Linked DNA regions of Homo sapiens: region 1 is linked to region 2. The links are contacts of gene promoters, found by promoter capture Hi-C in human tissues and cell types (Jung and others, 2019). All regions are on one chromosome and are shown on one strand. The core of a region is centred on a gene start or on the middle of the fragment in contact, and the rest is flanking DNA. Distances in the headings are between cores, read along the strand shown. Region 1 overlaps CYP3A7-CYP3A51P (CYP3A7-CYP3A51P readthrough). Region 2 holds the start of CYP3A43 (cytochrome P450 family 3 subfamily A member 43).

Region 1 (5,599 bases), core at 1,735-4,234, 100 kb before region 2:
AATATTCAGCATCTCTTCAAATTCAGCAGAAATGTATAGACAAAGATGTATTTATATATCCTTCTATTAAAAAGTCTTGGCTTAAAGTTAATAATAAAACAGAATGAAAAATTCCACACTTACATAGAAAGTTTAAAAAAAAGAAACAGCAGAGCATGGTTTCCCAATCTGTTTCTCTATATTTCTCAACCCTTCTTTCAAAAGCATGTTAAATCCAAAGTTGAAATGAAAGAGTTTTGGCTTTTAATTGAAAGTGAATCGATGTGGGAAGGAGATGATGCCATGCATTTATGAGCACATATTCGAAGGGTCTGAGACAATGCATGTGATAAAAGGGCATCAAGGGAAGAAAAAAAGAAGAGGGGAATAGGCAGACACTGGACAGAACGTGATGCTGGGAGTCCCTGGGCCACCAAAGCTTGGAGAAAAGTGGTAACCACAATGGTCTCAGCCTAGTTTAGACCGAAGACCTCAACACCTGGTGACATATGGGATCCTTGGTAGGACAAATCTCAAAAAGTTGTTTTACAATAGCGAGTGTGAACATTGTGAGAACCAAAATTATGACACGTGTGTGTGTGTGTGTCAGTGTGTCTGTGTGCCTATGTGTGTGATTAAAAACCTTGACAAATAAATCAAAGAAGGCTATGATGAGTGGATTCTCATGCTTGTGTGCCTGATAACAAAACTATCACAAAATACTTGGCAAAACCACCAGCTTGCAGAAAGCCCAACCCAACCTTACACAAAAATATTTCTGCAAGGACACCTGCCCAGCAACTGCCTGTCCAACCTTGGTGTGGCATCACCCTTGTTACTGATCTTTGTAGTGAAGGAGAACTATTTCAAAATCCACATGAAGTCCTCCTCATATTTTCTGTGGAACATCTTTGTCTTCCTTTACCTCCCTGAATTTGCACATAGCTTATAATGGCACACAGTTTCCCATTCTAATACTCTTCTCCCAAATACATATCTTCTTCTTTCAGAAAACCTCTCTGTTTGTAGTTAGGCTGGCAAGAGCTTCATCGCAAGAGGCTCTGGGCTGAGACTATCCTCTGTGCAGTGGGGTAAACTCATCATAGAAACAAGTCTATCCAATGGAATCTTCCAGAATACTCACCCCCAGACTTTTCTATACTTTTTATAACATTCCATGTCAAACGTCCAATAGCCCTGGGAGGAGAAACAAAATAATATTTCATTATTATTTTAAGTGTACTTAACCCTGCCTCTAATTGGGGTTGAAAACAGTCAAATCCAATGAAATTAGACTTGCTGGCAGTTAGAGGAAGCTTATTTAGAGATGTCATAAGAGAAAGGAAACAAAATAGAGGAGGTATTTGAAATGGGAAATTTAAAATCACTCTTGAATTTTCTTTAAGTGTTGTCGATACTGAATGTCTTATCCTTGTGTATAAATACTAAGTAACTCCTTGTCTTTCTGATGTCTCTTTGCTTTTTCATGTGTTGTCTCTAAAATCTCATAAATCCTTGAATGATCACCTCTAGGGGCATGTGGAGAAACTGAGGCTGAGGGAATGTGAGTGAGCGCCAGAAGGGAACGTGCAGTCTTTTTTCTCTTTGTTCTTCATCCTTTTCATTTATTTCATGAGCTCACTCTAGAATTCTAGCAGAATTAGAAAGTTACAGACACCAGGGACCTCTTTTAGCCTAGCAGATTTAGATAAGTGTGAGGCATGTTTGTTGAGTGAGAAAATGAGTGAGTGACAGAATGACAAAGTGGACTCGCTTTCCAGTTTTCCAGCTTAACATGAAAGTTCTGAGAAAATGTCACCTCTACACATCGGAGACAGAAAATTATGACACTTGCTCCGAGTTTGCACTGAAACTTAAAAAAAAACCTTCCTGTTTCTACATTTCAGGGGTGAAGTTTTAACTATGGAAAAGAAGGTCCGAGGAATGTGTATCTTGGGGGTACATCTACTAAAGATTTGACATGGGAAAGTGGTGGGTTTCAGGCCTCTTAGCCCAAGCCTGCATGGGTACATCCAGATGGCCTGAGGCAACCAAAAACTACAAATAGGTGAAACAGCCAGCTCCTGTCTTAACTGATTGACCAACCTTACAACGTTCCATTATGACTTGTTACTGCCCTGCCCCAACTGATCGATTGATCGACCTCGTGACATTCTTCTTCTGGACAATGAGTCTTATGATCTCCCTACCATGCACCTTGTGACCCCCTCCTCTGCTGACAATAGATAACTTCCTTTAACTGCAACTTTCCACTGCTTACCCCAGTCCTATAAAACTGACCCACCCCTATCTCCCTTTGCAGACTCCTTTTCGGACTCAGTCAGCCTGCACCCAGGTGATTAAAAAGCTTTATTGCTCACACAAAGACTGTTTGGTGGTCTCTTCACATGGACGCAAATGACATTTGGTGCCAAAGACCTGGGACAGGGGGACTCCTTCGGGAGTCCCATCCCCTGTCCTCGCCCTCACTCCATGGGGAGATCCACCTCTTGGGTCCTCAGACCAGCCAGCCCAAGGTCATCTCACCAATTTTAAATCGGGTAAGCGGCCTCTTTTTATTCTCTTCTCCAACCTCTCTTGCTATCCCTCCACCCTTCAATCTCTCCCTTCCTTAATTTCAGTTTCTTTCCCTTTCTGGTAGAGACGGAGGAGATACGTTTTATCCATGAACTCAAAACTCTGGTGCCAGTCATGGACTCGGGAACAGTCTTCCCTTGGTGTCTAAATCACTGCCAGGACACCTGCCTGGTTATTCACCCACATTTCAGAGGTATCTGATCACTGTGGGGATGCCTGCCTTGATCATTCACCTTGGCACAAGTACCACCTCCCCTGGGTCACAAGTATCACCTTCCCTGGGTGGCAAGTACCACCTTCCCTGGGTGGCAAGCACCACCTTCCCTGGGTGGCAAGTACCATCTCCCCTCTCTCCATGTCTCTACCTTCTCTTTTCTCTGGGCTTGCCCCCTTCACTATGGGCAACCTTCCAGCCTCCACTCCCTCTTCTTCTCCCTTAGCCTGTGTTCTTCAAAACCTAAAACCCCCTTTGACTAACACCTGACCTAAAACCTAAATGCCTTATTTTCTTCTGCAATACCGCTTGGCCTCAATACAAACTGGACAATGGTTCCAAATAGCCAGAAAATGACACTTTTGATTTCTCGATCTTATAAGACCTGGATGATTTTTGTTGAAAAATGGGCAAATGGTCTGAGGTGCCTGACATCCAGGCATTCTTTTATACATCAGTCTCTCCCTAGTCTCTGCTCCCAGTGTGACTCATCCCAAATCTTTCTTCTTTCTCTCCTGTCTCTTTCTTCAGTCTCCACCCTAAGCTCTGAGTCCTTTGAATCCTCCTTTTCTATGAACCCATCTGACCTCTCCCCTCCCCACCAGGCTGCTCCTCACCAGGCCAAGCCAGGTCCCAATTCTTCCTCATCCTCTGCTCCCCCACCCTATAATAGAAGTATCACCTCCCCTCCTCACACCCACTCCACCTTACAGTTTCATTCCGAGACTAGCCCTCCTCCACCTGCCCAACAATTTTCTCTTAGTCAGGTGGCTGGAGCTGAAGGCATAGTCAAGGTACATGTGCCTTTTTCTCTATCGACCTCTCCCAGATCAGTCAGCGTTTAGGCTCTTTTTCATCAGACCCCACTAAATATATACAGGAATTCCAATATTTAACTCAGTCCTGCGATTTAACCTGGAGTGACTGAAATGTCATCCTGACCTCCCCCCTCTCCCCAGATGAGCAGGAAAGAGTTGATACCCTAGCCCAATCTCACACTGACACCCACCAGTGCCATGAGCCAGACCTTCAAGAAGGCATCAGGGCAGTTCCCCAAGAGCATCCCCATTGGCAGTACAAGATGGACTCCCCAGGTATAGCTAGGTGAGATTACATGGTCTCCTGCCTAGTCAAGGGGTTCAAAAAAGCAGCATACAAGGCTGTTAATTATGACAAGCTAAAGGAAACTACCCAAGGTAAAGATGAAAACCCAGCCCAGTTCATGGCCCACTTAGCACCTACCATTAGATGCTTCACAGCCCTGGACCCAGAGGGGCCAGAAGGCCGCCTTATCCTTAATATGCATTTTATGACCCAATCCTCTCCTGACATTAGAAAAAATCTCCAAAAATTGGATTCCAGGCCTCAAACCCCACAACAGGACTTAAATAGCCTCACCTTCAAGGTGTATCATAATAGAGAAGAGGCGGCCAAGTGACAATGCATCTCTGAATTATAGCTACTTGCCTCCAGTGTAAGACAACCCAAGACCATGTCTCCAGCATACAAAACCTTCAGAACATCCAAGCCACAGCTCCCAGGGGCTCCTTCAAAACCTCCTCATGGACCTTGCTTCAAATGCCAAAAGCCTGGCCACTGGGCCTCAGAAGGCCCACAGCCTGGGATTCCTCCTAAGCCGTGCCCTGTCTGTGTGGGCTCCAATTAGAGGTTGGACTGTCTGACTCACATCGCCACTGCTCCTAAAGTTCCTGGAGCTCAAACCCAATGTTTCTTGGCTGACTCCTTCCCAGATCTCCTTGGCTTAGTGGCTGAAGACTGATGCTACCCGATCACCTCGGAAGCCCCCCGGAGAATCACGGATGCCAAACTTCAGGTAACTCTTACAGCAGAGGGTAAGTCCATCCCCTGTGTAATCGATAGGGGGGATACCCACTCCACACTACCTTCTTTTCAAGGGCCTGCTTCCCTTGCCCCCATAACTGTTGTGGGTATTGACGGCCAGGTTTCTAAACCTCTTAAAACTCCCCAACTTTGGTGCCAAATTGGGCAACATTCTTTTATGCACTCCTTTTTAGTTATCCCCACCTGCCAGTTCCCTTATTAGGCTGAGATATTTTAACCAAATTATCTGCTTCTCTGACTATTCCTGGACTACAGCTACATCTCATTGCCATCCTTCTTCCCAACCCAAAGCCTCCTTCGTGTCTTCCTCTTGTATCCCCCCACCTTAACCCACAGGTATGGGACACCTCTACTCCCTCCCTGGCAACTGATCACATGCCCATTACTATCCCATTAAAGCCTAATCACCCTTACCCAGCTTAACGCCAGTATCCCATCCCACAAGAGGCTTTAAGGAGATTGAAGCCTGTTATCACTCACCTGCTACAGCATGGGCTTCTAAAGCCTACAAACTCTCCTTATAATTCCCCCATCTTACCTGTCTAAAAACCAGACAAGTCTTACAGGTTTGTTCAGGATCTGCGCCTTATCAACAAAATTGTTTTCCTATCCACCCTGTGGTGCCCAACCCGTACACTCTTTTGTTCTCAATATCTCCCTCCACAACTCACTATTCCATTCTTGATCTTAAAGATGCTTTTTTCACTATTCCCCTGCACCACACATCCCAGCCTCTCTTTGCTTTTACCTAAACTGACCCTGACACCCATCAGTCCCAGCAGCTTACCTGGGCTGTACTGCCACAAGGCTTCTGGGACAGCCCTCATTACTTCAGCCAAGCTCTCTCTCATGATTTACTTTCTTCCCATCCCTCTGCTTCCCACATTATTCAATATATTGATGACCTTCTACTCTGTAGTCCCTCCTTTGAGTCTTTTCAACAAG
Region 2 (5,585 bases), core at 497-2,996:
AAGATATGGGACTCTCCATTTTAGGGTCTTCAAGTTTTTCAGATTTTCTGAGACATGGGTTAACTCTTCAGGTTAGTCTCCTAGTAAAACACAGCCAAAGTCCCAATTGTGTTTGAAACTTTCAAAAATGCAGATTGAAAGAAAGCCTCTTACTGTCTTTGAGAAGTCCAGACTCCTCTTATCCTCATTGCATGCTTCGGAGTTCAATTTAGGTGTATCTCTCACATCCATTTCTGTCGAGCCTTTACCTTTAAATTTTAAACTTGAAAAACTGCCAGAGTACCTGATAGTGATTGATCAGAGACAGAGCCACCGAATTACCCGATGGCAGGCCTTAGAGACCATGGCCTTAGGACCTAGGTTATGCATAGCCCTCACCTTAGGAAGGGGTCCCTTCAAGGGCAAATAAAATGCGATAGTCCTTGCAACACTGAAGCATGGAGTATCCTGTGAGGCATGAACTTGCTTGATGCAGCATGAATGCACCCCAAGAAACATGGGCATGCCCCTCCAAGTGCAAGCATACCCCACAAGTGGGTAGCCATAGAGCCAGAAGGGCAGGTTCCCTGAAAAAAATAAAGACCTCAAGACCTCATCCTAAATGTGAGATCTTGGATGTAAGAGGATTTACTGATTTTTCCACAAAACAGCCAGGCCAGGAAGATAACTGAGCTTAGAGGACTCTTGCTGGTGCCAATGCATTGATTAGTCCAGATGACAAGGGAGAGGATCTTGAGAGCCAATTTTGATCCCTTCCTCATCACCAGGAAATATGAGTAAAGATTGTGGGATCTGTGGAGGACAGAGGGAGAGCTTCATTTTCTATAAAACACAGTCTGCAGATTGAGGAGATGCAGCCTCGGAGGTGGAGAGCTATAAAGTCAAAAACCACAGAGCAGGATAGAGGAGTCAGAGGAGTGAAGAAAAGAGTCTTGATTAGACAGCCTTTAAGCCCCAAGTCACATGTCTCTTAATTGGCTGTTCCTAGGTGGTCAGTTAGTTCTTACCACATGATCTGTTGGTGAGCAGTTGGAAAATTCCCAGGTACAGATTTTTTCAGAAAATGTTATTTGACTTGGCTACAGAAAAATAGGTTTTGCAACACTTACTAAGAACACAGAGAACATGACCATCACCTAAACCTGCCATGGCCTCTTGGGTTTGTTTTTGCTTTTGAGGCACAGGGAGTCCTTCTTGTCTGTTTACCTGGAGGCATGATTTGGCAACCTAGATAACAAACAGAGATAGGCTTTCTAAAAAGAATTATTTTTATTTGGGAATAAAGCATTGCAATGGGAATATGCGTGCCAAGGTAAACTATGTGCTTATTCAGGTAGGTAAAGTAAGACAAAGTTTAAAAAAATAATGAGAAGGATTACATATTTGTTTTGGAATGATTATCCTTGGCTATAAAGATCAATAACAAGACTGACATCAGTTTGAGGTTGGACAGGCAGTTGCTGGGCAGATGTTCTTGCAGAAGTATTTTTCTTTAGGTTCCTGAGAATCTATAACCTTTGGGCTTACCAATAGCAGTGACTGATTTGTTTACTGATTGTTCACAGAATAGGAAATCAAAGGAGGCCAAAATAAGGACAGCCATAATTATTTGCCAATTGTCAATTTGAAAAGGGTACCCAAATCCCTCCATATGAGGAGTAGCATAAGTGGCTTTTCTACTGGCTGCCGCTGTAGACCCACCTCCTTCTCCAGCACATAAATATCGCTGTTAACATTAACTAAATCACCTCTGGGCAGAGAAACAAAGCTCTATATGCACAGCCCAGCAAAGAGCAGCACACAGCTGAAAGAAAAACTCAGAAGACAGAGCTGAAAAAGAAAACTGGTGATGGATCTCATTCCAAACTTTGCCATGGAAACATGGGTTCTTGTGGCTACCAGCCTGGTACTCCTCTATATGTGAGTAACTATGCAGGCATGTTTGCTCTTAACTCTAAGACCTGAAGTGCTAATTGGGCCCATCTTTTTCTTATTTGTTTTGAAGATAAAAGAGATAACGGAGGGGAAGTTACCTAAGTGCCAAATACTGTGAACACATAAAATATTATTAATATGTTAGGACTCCTAATACAACATTTGAAAATGTAAAATTTAGTCTGGGTGCGGTGGCTCACACCTGTAATCTCAGCACTTGGGAGGTGGAGGCAGGCCAATCACAAGGTCAGGAGTTCAAGACCAGCCAGACCAACATGGTGAAACCCCTTCTCTACTAAAAATACAAAAATTAGTCAGGCATGGTGGCACACACCTGTAATCCCAGCTACTTGGGAGGCTGAGGCAGGAGAATCGCTTGAACCCAGGAGGCAGAGGTTTCAGTGAGCGGAGATTGCACCACTGCATTCCAGCCTGGGTGACAGAGCAAGACTCCGTCTCAAAAAAAAAAATAAAACTTTGTCATACTGAGTAGTTTGAACTAAAGAAGACTGAAAGACTTCACAAATGTCTTCAGAATCTCTGACCCTCTTCTGTCTACCCATCCCCCATTCTTTCCCTCCTGAAGTGCAGGGTTGCTCTGAAGTTCTCTTATCTGACTAAGGGAAGATCTTCCAAAAAGAATGCAATTGTCTTGAGCCTCTCCAAATAATCTCATCAATCAGAAAACTAATTCACAGGAAAAGAGAAAAAGTTTGATAATACTTATTCTTTGGAGCACTGCTACCTGAGAGACTTTATCTCCACAATAAAATAACCTTTGTTCATCATGTGTTTTCTCCCTTCACCTTCCCATAACTTGTGTCAGAAACTCCCTATCAGAAGCCACTCCCTACTTTTTAGCTTACAATGCTATTTAAGCTTTACTCATTCAGTCCTTATTTTAGTCTCATATATTGTGGGCCTCCAGCACATATGCATGTAAAATTTTGTATGGATTTTCACTGTAACCACCCAAGAGATTCACCTTGCCCCCTGCCTCAACAGAGCCCATTCATCAAGACAGGGGAATTGTAATAGAGAATGAGTTAATACATGCTGCCAACAAAAAGAGCCAAACTCTGTACAATACTTGAAGAGATTTATTCTGGGCCAAATATGAGTGACCATGGCCCATGACACAGCCTTCAGGAGGTCTTAAGAACATGTACCCAAGGTGGTCAGGGTGCAGCTTGGTTTTATTCTTTTAGGGAGGCATGAGATATCAAATACATTTAAGAAATACATTGGTTTGGTCCACAAAGGCAGGAAATGTGATTTTTGCAGAATTCTTTGTGATAGAGCAGACTCCAGAGAAATTGCAACAACTTAAAGTCTTTCAGATCTGGCCCTAAGGAGCTATAGGAGAGAAAAAAAATCTGTCAGATCACCATTGCCTACCTCTACTCCAACTGGAGCTGTTTCAAAACCAACATGTAGAAATCTTTTTGTCTGGCTGCCCTGTGAACTCAGAAACTAGTCTGCTAAATGATTAACTTTTGGTCTCCTTTTGCTTTGGTAGAATGACCTCTTATTAAGTACCTGTTTAACTGCACCATATACAGACCTATCTTTCATGACAGCAGACCTGCAACATCACCTCCTGAAATGAGGCACAGCTGTTTAACTGGATTGACATTGCTAGGAATGTGAGACTGGTTTATACTGGTTTAATGTGATTCCTTGCGACTCAGCTACCAATTCAATTGTCCTCTCCACAAGCATCAACTCAGCTTTAGTATGTACATTTTCTAGGGAAGTTTATGACAGGGGAAAGTTGGGGCTCCAAAAATGAAACCCCAAAATATGGCACTTAAGCATGTTGAGGACTTTGAACCAAAGGAAATTGAAAGGTCTCAGAAAGTCTTCAGAACCAAGCTAACTCTTATGTTCTCCTGTCTCCCAACCCTGCTATTTCTCCCAAAATATAGGAAGGGGCTTTCTCTGAAGTTCTCATACCTAAAGGAAGATCCTCCTAAAAAAAAGCAATGGTCTTGAGCCCCCTCCCTATAATCTCATGAAAAAGAATCTTAGCAGGGCCAGGCATGGTGGCTCATACCTGTAATTCCAGCACTTTGGAAAGCCGAGGTGGGTGGATCACGTGAGGTCAGAAGTTCAAGACCAGCCTGGTCAACATGATGAAACCCTGTCTCTACTAAATATACAAAAATTAGCTGGGTGTGGTGGCAGGTGCCTGCAATCCCAGCTACTCGGGAGGCTGAGGCAGGAGAATCGCCTGAACCCTGGAGGCAGAGGTTGCAGTGAGCCAAGATTGCGCCATTGCACTCTAGCCTGAACAACAAGAGCAAAACTTAGTCTAAAAGAAAAAAAAAAGAAAAAAATAATATTAGCTCACAGAAAGGGAGACTAAGGTTGATAATACTTGTTCTTTGGAGCACTGATGCCTGACAGACATTATAATAAGATGACTTTTGTTTATCATGCTTTTTCTTCCCTCACTCTCTCATGTCTTGTGTCACCCACTCCCCATCAGAAGATACTACATTTTTATAGCTCAGAATGCTATTTAAGCTTCAATCATCAGGCCATTCTTTGAGTATCATATCTTTCAAGGCTCCCATGCATATTCATGAGATAAATTTATAAGGATTATCTCCTATTAATTGATCTACTGTTAGTTCATTTCTCAGACTCAAATATCAAACCTCCATAGAGGAATGTTCTCTTGACCCTACAGATGTTACACAGATCCGTTGAAGAAGTAAATAAACATTATCCACCTCCTCTTCATTCAACTTCCAATTTCTGTTACTAAGAGTGTTTACTGACATCATTCAATCCTGGGGATGCTTTCTGATTGACTATGAGTTTTGATCTACCTAGACTAACAACCAGAATTTAGCATGGGCAGATAATGGATTATAAACAACTGGAAACCCAAGAGGTTATTTTCGATGTGTGAGTAGGAAAAGATCCCCAAAGAGGGAACCAAGCTAACAGCTGGGCCTGGCCAGGGTGCCACTGTGGGGTCCTTCAAACACATTCTCTTCATGCAATTTTTCAGCTTTATCACATTTTATAAGATTTATTTATTTGTACTGAATATTTAGGATCTAAGAAAAGCTAACCTATAAAGAAGAGAAATCAAGTTTCTAATTCAACTGTCTGGAATATTTTATGGTTACTTATGCTATGTAGCACAGTGAAACTTTTCTATCAACAGAAATGTTCCTGAATTTTGGAAGACCTCTCTTTCAGCTGAAAGCACATAAGGGGCATTTAAAACTATTTATGCATACCATAATTTTCAGCCACACTTTCCTAACTTACCCTTATAGGGCCTACTTTGTGGCACCAGCAGTTGCATGGTTACATCGGCGGGATGCAGCCTCTCTTTTTCCTCCAGTCTTCCATCCCTCAGTAACACCAGAGTGGGAAGTTCTGCAAGGATCCAGAACCTGCAATTGATGGAGTTCACACATAACCCATCAAAGATGAGTTGCAGGCAGGCCTGCCATAAGGAGCACCAGACTTAATGGGTTTTCCTGCAGGATAGTTGATGTACAGAAGCAGTAAACTGACTCTGTGTGACTGATCATTTTGAGAAAAAAAAAAAGTGAGCATGACTGGCATTGTGCTTATCAAGTAAGGATCACCAGTTGGAGGGCCAGATTGCACAAGAGGAGGAATGG

What was found. The method cuts DNA at HindIII sites, captures the fragments that hold promoters and counts their contacts. A contact is called where the count stands out against the background at its distance.
Region 1: a fragment that was not itself captured here is called in contact with the fragment with the promoter of CYP3A43 in region 2 in 2 of the 25 tissues and cell types used here (H1 embryonic stem cells and bladder).

The regions. Positions count from the first base shown.
Region 1 is chr7:99,721,173-99,726,771 of GRCh38, forward strand. It overlaps CYP3A7-CYP3A51P (CYP3A7-CYP3A51P readthrough), which reads right to left. Exons shown (of 15, transcript NM_001256497.3): 3 at 1,124-1,176. CYP3A7 (cytochrome P450 family 3 subfamily A member 7) reads right to left here. Exons shown (of 13, transcript NM_000765.5): 3 at 1,124-1,176. It also overlaps a transcript of ZSCAN25 not described here. Among named protein-coding and RNA genes, the nearest start is that of CYP3A7, 11 kb to the right of the region's middle. The HindIII fragment of the contact is 4,256 bases long and covers 857-5,112 here.
Region 2 is chr7:99,826,267-99,831,851 of GRCh38, forward strand. It overlaps CYP3A43 (cytochrome P450 family 3 subfamily A member 43), which reads left to right and starts at 1,747. Exons shown (of 13, transcript NM_057095.3): 1 at 1,747-1,920. The coding sequence starts at 1,850. The HindIII fragment of the contact is 7,263 bases long and covers 1-3,639 here.